Linked DNA regions of Homo sapiens: region 1 is linked to region 2. Evidence: promoter capture Hi-C in human tissues and cell types (Jung and others, 2019). All regions are on one chromosome and are shown on one strand. The core of a region is centred on a gene start or on the middle of the fragment in contact, and the rest is flanking DNA. Distances in the headings are between cores, read along the strand shown.

Region 1 (2,939 bases), core at 440-2,939, 140 kb before region 2:
CGGAGGTAGAGGAGCCAGGAACCCAGAAACCCAAACACTGCCACAAATACCCCAGGGTCACCAAAGGCATTCCAAAGCAGCAGAATGAAAGGCAATGTGCTAGGAACCTCGTGTACTTTACCTTTTGTAACATTCACACAACTCTGTAAGGTAGGTATTATCTTTTCTGTTTTAGAGATGAGGAAACTGAGGCTCAGAGAAGCCAGGTGAGTTATCAGTGGTTACACGCCCTGTGGGCAGGAGAAGAAACACCCTAGTCTGACCTCACTCTAGGGTCCATACTCTCTCCAGTGTGGTACACTGTCCTATATGTCATTTAATGATTCTGTTTACTGGGAAAGACATACAAGTCCTTAAGGAGTAACAGTTAGAGTTTTGAGGCCGGGCGCGGTGGCTCACGCCTGTAATCCCAGCACTTTGGGAGGCCAAGGCAGGCGGATCACAAGGTCAGGAGATCAAGGCCATCCTGGCCAACACGGTGAAACCCTGCCTTTACTAAAAATATGAAAAATTAGCCGAGTGTGGTGGCAAGCGCCTGTAGTCTTGAACCCGGGAGATGGAGGTTGCAGTGAGCCAAGATCGCGCCACTGCACTCCAGCCTGGGCAACAGAGTGAGACTCCATCTCAAAAAAAAAAAAGAGTTCTGAGTAGAAAACCAAAGTTCTTAGTGGAGGTGACCAATTTAGACATCTTCCCATGTCCCTCTCTCCCTTCACGGACAGAATAGTTTTCCTAGAGAAGGAATCAACAAATGCACAAAGCTCAAAAATGTTGTCCAAATCTCAAATGCTGTCAGTTTCTGCATGGAAGAGAAGTAGTTCATTCATACTACAAATTCCAGCATGCAGTCAAGGGAATGTTAAGTGGAAACTAACTTACTGACATATTGAGCTGGGTTAAATTTAATAATCAAATGAAACACTTTATAGCACATGAAAGTGCCAGCACCTAGGACACGATACACCAATAGAACCAGAGAATGATGGGTTCCCAGCACAGACAGATGAGAGACAAGAATGGCAAAACTTTAGGGCCAGGTATGGTGGCTCACACCCAGCACTTTGGGAGGCCGAGGCAGGCGGATCACCTGAGGTCGGGAGTTCGAGACCAGCCTGACCAACATGGAGAAACTCCATCTCTACTAAAAAATACAAAATTAGCTGGGCATGGTGGTGCATCACCTGAGGTTGGGAGTTTGAGACTGGCCTGACCAACATGGAGAAACCTCGTCTCTACTAAAAATACAAAATTAGCTGAGCATGGTGGCACATGCCTGTAATCCCAGCTACTCGGAAGGCTGGGGCAGGAGAATCGCTTGAACCCGGGAGGCAGAAGTTGTGGTGAGCCGAGATCGCGCCATTGCACTCCAGCCTGGACAACAAGAGCGAAACTCCATTTCAAAAAAAAGAAAAAAAGAAATAGAATGTCAAAACTGCAAATGTCACCAGAAACTTCCAGGCATCTGGTATTGGTATGTGACTTACTCCACTTGTGGGCAAATGCGAGTAACTCATGGGCTTCTCCAGTGTGAACTTACCTGCCCTATTACAAATCTAACCCATTCCCAAATCAGTCTGGTTGGTCCCATCCCTTCTTCCCACTAACACAAAAAAACAATTACAACCAGAACACTCCTATCCCTATTCAATGCTCTACCAGTTCTCTTTCTTCTGCTACCCCAAGACCGCCAGGACAGTCTATGATAACCTACACACTATTACTTGTAATTCGTTTGTCTCACTCTCATTTGTCGTTCTCCAACCCCACAAAAAAACCCACCCCATGGAAAGGTTCTAGGATTTCATAAAAATTCATCCCAACTCCCTCCCCCTACTCTACCCATAGTAAGGTAAAAGAAACACCTCTTCCTCCTCCCTGCTGAGGCCATTCATTTTCAACCCATTTCCCTAAATACTATTTCTAACACCTCACATGAAGATCCGAAAATGATGGGGAAGGAAATACCCCAGGTATCCCAGCAGGGGACCAGCTCCCAGGCAAAACCAGATCAAACAGACAACTGTTTAATGCACAGAGAATCTTTTTGGATTGTTACCCTAAACTTCCTAGGGGAAAACAGAACCCCATATGCTTTCCTAGAGACCTCTAATGCCAAGCTGAAGAGCCAGCTCACATGCTGGAGCCCTTATCATAGCCATTTCCTTAATGTTTTTTCTTCCCCTACTCATAAGTTAGTGACTGTAGTCAGGCCGCTACATGGTCCTGGCACTGGCCCTGGCTCTGGCCTGCCAACTTCATTGGTATTGCTGCCCTGTCCACTTCCACTTACCCTCCCTCCCAGGTCACCACTGGAATGTAGAGCAGAGAGCCAGCTCCTCCAGCTGCTTCCAGAACCACCAAGTCCTCTCGTCCTACTCTCTTCATAGTCATCTCCCATGCCTGTAGCTAAAAGCCTCTACCCAAAGCTTCCATAAAAATAATGAACATTTCTAGACTATGCAAGTGACTCATTCAAGTCAGCATGAACTGACTTCCTAAGAGACTGAAAGTGTTGGAAGGACATGAGCAGGGCTCCTTGCCAATTCAAAATTCTGCGCCAAATGGGTGGTATCTTCTGGGCCTGGGGTACCCTCAGGAGCCAAAAGCACAACTCTCTCCCAGACTGAAAACCACACTGGAGGATAAATGTTGAGAACAGTCAGCCAGGAGACTGAGATAACCCTGAACCCAGATACCAAAAGGCTGGAATAGATCCTACATTGACAAGTGATCAGCTGGCTGTGGGCCAGAAACAATACACCACAGACAAACTGGAAAAAACGATTTTACAGTAAATGGACTTTTTACAAAAAGGGGAGGGGCAGTCTGAAAAAGTAAAGTTTAATTTAAAAATCATATACATAAAGCTTCTGATTCATTTTCAGCTCTCCCACTGTGTCTTTCACAGGCGAGTCAGTTTCCCATTGAGTGGAGGCCAG
Region 2 (7,066 bases), core at 1,375-3,874:
CATATAAGTCAGTGACCCCTGCTATGACTTTCATCCCCCATAACAGGAGGAAGGGGGATTATCCCCCTTCCATCCCCCATAACAGGAAGAAGCCTGCATTACCCACTACTTGGGATTCAAATGAGGTGATACTAGCGATTGTAAACTGTAAATCACTATAAACATGAGATATTTTATTGTCATTACCCACTGTAACCTACTTATAAGCATTTGCTTATACTGTTGCCCCTACCTTCCACTTAACTGAGTCCTACCCTTTCTTGCAGTCAAATGCTGGCTCTACCTCCTTCTGGAACATTCCTGGGGCCTCAGCCCAGAGCTCACTCTAGCCTCTAACCACAAGCCCCTAACGTGCTGGGCTTATGCCAGCTCTCAACACCACTGGATTCTGTTCCTCTTCTTCTTACCTGGATTGCAAATCCCCTGGGCAGGAATCAAAGCCATGTATGAATGAATCAATGAAAGAACCAGGTGCAAGCACAGCACACAGCACAGGGCTGGGCTTCTGTCCCTTCCCCGGGCACTCGCTGGGCCTCATAGTGCCAGGTTCTGTGTGAGGTGCTGGGATTTGGAGATGCTCCAGCGGGGAGACAGACAGGCAGATCTGTGACAATGACTCCCCCTGTAAGTGCCATAACGAGGGGGCACAAAAGGCTGGGGAGCCAGGAAACAGTGCAGCTATTTGTGGGAGAGTCAGGGAGGGTTTCCCTAGGAATGACGTTTAGTGGATCTTAAAGGACAAGTAGGAATTTGCTCAATAGAAGATGGAAAGACAGAGCAGAGAGTTGGGAAAGGACCTGTCAGTCAGTGTGGCCAGCGGCAGCGGTACCTGGTGTATGGGGTCGCTGGGAGAGGGATGGAATGGGGTGAGAGCGAGGGCCTTGGCTGCTAGGCACAGGAGTCTACACTTGATTCACTGGCCCACGCGGGGCCGGATTGAGGTGTGCAGCCTAAAATAGTAAGGGGCCGGAGGGGACCACCAGGGGAGAAGGCTCCCTTTGCAGCCCCCTAGAGAGACCGGTCTCCTGGGCTGTAAGGGTTGCTGGCGCCCCCGCAAGCCCTGTGCTGCCTGCTGTGTCTGTCTCCCAGGCTGTGAACCTCCGGGCCATGTTCTCCCAGCACCTGGCGCAGGTCAGGTGCCCAGCCCACGACTGCTAAATACCAGGATGAGCCAATGAATGCACAAGGCAGTGCCCGGAGGAAGGCGGGGGACGGGCGGAGGCCGAGCGGATGCGGGAGCCTGAGCTGCGCCCGGCTTTCAGGAGCGCGGGTGCGGGCGCGCGGAACTCACCCTGCGCGCAGCGGCGGGGCGTCGGGGTCCCCAGCCCCGGGCCCAGAGCGCGGCAGCAGGCGGCCTGCGAGCGGCGCCGGCTCTGCAGCTGGAAGGAGACGCGCCGTCCGGCGGCCTCGGCCTCGAAGCCGGACACCACCTCGGCCTCGGCCAGCGGGTACACGAACACGCCTGGGGAGGGCGGCGGGAGGCGGCGTCGGACCCTGCCCGGCGCACCCCCCGCCGCGCCCGCGCCCCACCCGGGCCTCACCGTCCACCGGCTGCGGCTGCGGGTTGCGGTAGGTGAGCCGGGCCCGCACGCTGAGGCAGGGGCCGTTGGCGCAGGCCCGGACCCAGGAGTCCGTGAGCGGCAGCGGCGTCCAGCTGGAGGGGCAGTACAGGCCGGGCATGGCGCCGGGAGGCCGGCCCTGCGGGAACGGGCCGGGGAAGCTGGGCGCAGGGTGACGGGACGCCCACCCCGCGCTCCAGAGGCCAGCGCGAGAGTCTCACTCCAGCACCCGGACGGGGCCTGCCGGGGCGCGAGGCCGAGCGGGAGCTCCTGAGGGCGACAGGTGGCGGGGGAGATAAGGGGGCGGCAGGCGTGGTGGCGAGGAGGGCATCCTCACGCGTTACCTGGGCAGCCGGGCCGCGGAGGGTTAATGATTAACGCGCGCTTCGGCGCCCAGCAGTCCCGCCGCGGCTCCCCCGGGGGTGGGGGCGGTCACAGCTGTTCCACCGCCCACTCCCAACCTCGCAGCCACCCCCGTACCTGCCGGCCCCCCGGGGCCCCCCGCGGCCGCCAGCTGTCGGAAGCGGCGCGGGTGGAGATGGAAGATGCTCCGGGAAGGCGGAGGTTTAAAGGGCCCGAATCCCCCCGGAGGCCCCCGGCCCTGCGAGGGATCGCGGGGGCAGGGTGGATGGGGCGCCGAAAGGGCCTTGGTCTTTCTCTCCCTGGTGCCTCATCCGACGGGGGTGCTGGCCGGAGTGGAGGGGTTAAGGGTGGGAAGAACGAGCTGGGAAAGCGAAAAGAGGGGGTCTTTGGGAGGCAAGCCCGGGAGAGGTGTCGGGCCAGGGAGAGTCCGTGGGAGCCGCCAGGTTACCGCTCCCTACCCCGGCAGAGCTGATGTGGGAGGAGGGGGCACCTGCAGTGGCCGCGGCCCGCGCAGGGGATGCCGCGGGCTGGCTCTGGGGATCGCCCCGCTCCCTGTGGCAGTCTCAGCCTCACCGTCGCGCCCTCCGCGGAGTTCTAGGTGCCCACGGGATCCGTGTGGGTGGTGCCGCCTCTGCGCTCCGGGTGGCCCTCGGTCCCGGCACCTGCCGGCCGCCAGTTCGTGACTGTGGCTGCAGCGGCTCTGAGTCCCGGCAGGGGCGCGGGCCCTGCCGGCGGTGGTCCCGCCCCCGTTCCGAGAGGCCGCCCCTCCAGCCTGCCCTGGCCACGCCTGCTGCTGCTGCGGCGGGGCTGGCGCTCCCCCCTCCTTCGGGCGCGGTACCGCCTCCGCGCCAGCCGCGGCAGCCCGAGCCAGACTGGGCACCGCAGTGCAGGGACCGCGTCCCCGCCGCCGCACGGATCCCCGTCACTGCAGGACCGAGGCCTCAGAGACCCCACCCTTTCCATTCTTCAGGAATCAGGCGTCCTGCAAGTGCCACCGACACTGCCGCGACCCCAGCTATCCCATTACCACGACGGCATCCCATTCCCCAGCCCACCCCACCCCCTGCCCTGGGTTGCTTCCCATCGCTGCAGAGACCCTCCCTCCTGACTGCAGCGAACCCCCCAGCCCCCCATCACCGTCACCGCAGGACTCTTCCCCCAAGAAGCTGGCCCCTTTCCTTTGCAAAGTGCTCTTCATCACTGCAGAAAACCTCCCCCATCCCTGCAGGTACTTTTAGTTCATGCAGCCACTTCAGTGACCACTCACTCCAAGCAGGGATTCCTCATCACTGCAGCGACCTCCTCCCACCCCCAAGCAGCCGGCCTTGGCATCGCTGCAGTGCCAACCACTTCTGCTGGGGTGGGAGGGTGTGCACAATAGCGCCCTCAGCCTATAACCCCTTGGTCTCTTCAGCTGTGCGGGCCTTGGGAGTGAAGCCTTCTAGCCTGAAGAGCCTTCTTATGGCTGCAGACCGTCCCCTCATAGCAGTGACCCCCACCCATCACCGCAGCCCTGAAGAGAAAACATCTCTGCTTGTCAGGAGGGCCCCTTGTTATTGGCAGACTTTGCATGTGCTTGACAGTGTTATGCTGTCAAAAAGTAGGAAGGTCCGGAAAACCTCTCCCAGGTCCCCCAAGGAAGAGTCTGAGAGCCCTGGGGAAGTGAGAGGAGATGACCATGTTTGGGGATCATCCATGTAAGCTTTTTGGCAGATGCCATACTGAGATTCTGCAGAGAGAGCTTGAGGAGAGCTGGGGATGGAGGACAGCCAGTAGGAAGTGAGCTTTCGAGTCGGGCCCATGGTTCTCACTCCTCCGCATTAACTCTCTCCTTCTGATTTCAATCACTATCACCAGGGATCATCCCCCCGGGGGATCCCTGCCTCCTTGAGTATCTGAGCCCTCAACCCCAACCATCTCCTTTGCTCACCCTACTTAGCATGGTGGAGAGAGCTTGACCTTTTCCCAGGGAATTTCATGGGTGGAAATGCACAGGAATGATACAGGGAGCACAGACACAGTCACACGTACCCAACACACAGGGAGCTCCAGCTGGGTCCTAGCCCTCTTTCCATACTACCTGGGTCATGGTTCCATTCACCTCTCTCCCCCTTTCTCTACTGAGTCTGTTCTCAGCTTCATCCTGAACGAGGGTCCCTCTTTCAGGCCTAGGGAGAAACAGTGGATGGGCTGATGGTCCCTCCAGGTGATCCAGGGCCTCAGGTAGGACCAGCCCTGGCCCTGAGGGCCTCACAAAGGTCCAGGCAGTGGCCACCTTTCCACAAGCACCTTGTGCTCTGCCCCTTCTACAAATGAACCAAGAGCTACATGTAGCCCTTGGACAAACATGAGGTTGCAAATAGCAGTCATTAGGGAGGTCTCCGACACATGGAAATGGAAAAAGAGGTCCTTCTGTTTGGTCCTGAGGAGAGCTTAGATGTAAGACAGCCTCCCAGGAAGATAGCATCCCTATCAGAGACCAGACACACACACTGGCAGAAGTCAAACTTTGCTGCAAAGCTGGACCAACCCTGAGATCTTGCTAGGAAGGTCTCCTTAGCTGAGGCAAATGGAGGGAGAGACAGGTGAATGGCTCCACAAAAAGCATAGGGCACCCTGCAGGATGAGGGGCAGGGGGTGGGGAGCCAGTGCTGGCTGCCTGGCACCTTGGGTGGGGCAGTAAGAAGGGTCTCTGAGGCCCAGCTGGAAGGCCCTCTGGTGGTGAGGCAGCAGCATGACAGCCAAGGGCAGAAGGGGACAGCACAGGAACCAGATTCCAGATCTGAGGCCGGGCTGAGGGATAGCATGGGGTGGGCTACGTGGTAGTCATAGGAGAATAGATGATATAGATGATATACATATAGATATAGATATATAGATATATTTTTTGAGACAGAGTTTCGCCCTGTCGTCCAGGCTGGAGTGTAGTGGAGCGATCTCGGCTCACTGCATGCAACATCTGCCTCCCAGGTTCAAGTGATTCTCCTGCCTCAGCCTCCTGAGAAGCTGGGATTACAGGCGAGCACCAGCATGCCTGGGTAATTTTTTGGATTTTTAGTAGAGACAGGGTTTCACCATGTTGTCCAGGCTGGTCTTGAACTCCTGAGCTCAGGCAATCTGCCTGCCTCAGCCTCCCAAAGTGCTAGGATTATAGGCATGAGCCACTGCGCCTGGCCCATAGGAGGATATTGAGCTGAAAAGACTTAGCTTCTGCCTAGGAGAGTCTCACACTTTAGTGAAAAGGGCAGACAAATATACAGTTACAGTAGCTTGAGATAAGTGCTGCATTACAAGAGTAATAGTAATGGATATTATAAAAGCTTTTAACTGGCTGGCGGTGGCTCACACCTGTAATGCCAGCACTTCAGGAGCCTAAGGCAGGAGAATCCCTTGAGGCCAGGAGTTTGAGACCAGCCTGGACAACATAGGGAGACCCTATCTCCATAACAATTAAAAATTAAAAAACAAATCTTAACCAAGGGTGGTGGTGATGTGGGGAATAGGGTGAACCTTAGGGAACTGACTTAGAAAATGGCACTCAGCCAGGTCTTCTTGTTGCAAAGCACAACTCAATTATCTCCTGCTTGTGGGCTGCCTGTCGGCCTTTGGAGGGCAGAGGTCTTATTTCCCCAAACTATAGATGATCTACCCTCTCAGATTGGAGCTCCAGAAGAGATATACCTAGAGAAAAAGAGGAATTTTGCCTCTTGCTGTCTAAAGCTTGACTTCCAAAATCCCAGCCCCTGCCTGAAACCCAAATTGGAAGATGGTTTAGTTCATTAATTCATTTGTTCACTCAAGAAATATTTCTTGTTGAAGCCTGCGGTGTGCTAGAGCTGGAACTACAGCAGAAAACAAGACAGTGGTAGCCCCTCCCCTCACGAAAGACGTCAATTAAACAATTAATTTTTAAATTTTGTATTTCAAAATAACTTCAAAACTTCTACAAAAGTTGCAAATAAAGCATTTTTTTCTGAACCATTTCAAATTAAGTTTTACACATCCGACCTCTTTACCCCTAAACACTTCGGTTTGTCTTTTCTTTTCTTTTTTTTTTTTTTTTCAGAGACAGGGTCTCACTCTGTCACCCAGGCTGGAGTGGAGTGGCACAATCATAGCTCACTGCAGTCTTGAACTCTTGAGCTCAAAGGATCCTTCCTCCTTGGCTTCCCAAAGTACTGGGGTTACAGGTGTGAGCCACCATGCCCAGCCAGTTGGTGTGGGGGGGGGTAGTTTTTTTTATTTGTTTGTTTGTTTGTTTGTTTTGAAACACAGTCTCACTGTTTTGCCTAGGCTGGAGTGCAATGGCTCAATCTCAGCTCACTGCAACCTCCGCCTCCCGGGTTCAAGTGATTCTCATGCCTCAACCTCCAGAGTAGCTGGGACTACATGTGCACGCCAGAATGCCTGGCTAATTTTTGTGTTTTTGTTTTTATTTTTATTTTTTGAGATGGAATCTCACTCCGTAGTCCAGGCTAGAGTGCAGTGGTGCGTGTGCAATCTCAGCTCACTGTGACCTCCACCTCCCAGTTCAAGCGATTCTCCTGCCTCAGCCTCCCGAGTAGCTGAGAATACAGGCACCCACCACCATGCCCAGCTAATTTTTGTATTTTTAGTAGAGATGGGGTTTCACCAAGTTGGTCAGGCTGGTCTCAAACTCCTGACCTCAAGTGATCTGCCTGCCTCAGCCTCCCAAAGTGTTGGGATTATAGGTGTGAGCCACTGCTCCCAGCCTTTAAGAGTCTTCTACTGGGAGTAGTTTCTCCTTTTTGTCTTTTGTGATACTGACACATTTGAAGAGTACTGGCCAGTTGTTTTGTAGAATGTCCGTCAGTTTGAGTTTGTCTGTTGTTTCCTCATAATTAGATTCAGGATATGCACTTCCCATAGGAACACCACATAAGTGACGTTGTACCCTTCTCACTATATCTCATTGGGAGGATGTACATGTCAGTTACAGTTACTGGCGATTTTAACTTTGATCCTTTCAATAAGGTGGTGTGTTAGGGTTCTCCAGAGAAAACAGAACCAACAGAGATTGAGAGAGAGAGAGAGAGAGAGAGAGAGAGAATACGTATATATAAAATAAGGAATTGGCTCGTGTGCTTGTACAGGCAAGTCCAGTGCGGGCTGGCGGGCTAAAG

What was found. Contacts are between HindIII fragments. The study calls those that stand out against the background at their distance.
Region 1: a fragment that was not itself captured here is called in contact with the fragment with the promoter of VWA5B2 in region 2 in 1 of the 25 tissues and cell types used here (dorsolateral prefrontal cortex).

Annotation. Positions count from the first base shown.
Region 1 is chr3:184,368,425-184,371,363 of GRCh38, reverse strand. POLR2H (RNA polymerase II, I and III subunit H) reads right to left here. Exons shown (of 6, transcript NM_006232.5): 6 at 2,773-2,939. Among named protein-coding and RNA genes, the nearest start is that of POLR2H, 8.2 kb to the right of the region's middle. The HindIII fragment of the contact is 4,081 bases long and covers 1-2,939 here.
Region 2 is chr3:184,225,143-184,232,208 of GRCh38, reverse strand. It overlaps VWA5B2 (von Willebrand factor A domain containing 5B2), which reads right to left and starts at 2,624. Exons shown (of 20, transcript NM_001390846.1): 1 at 2,496-2,624; 2 at 1,542-1,829; 3 at 1,292-1,462. The coding sequence starts at 1,680. RefSeq lists a silencer at 2,517-2,856. The HindIII fragment of the contact is 9,993 bases long and covers 1-4,433 here.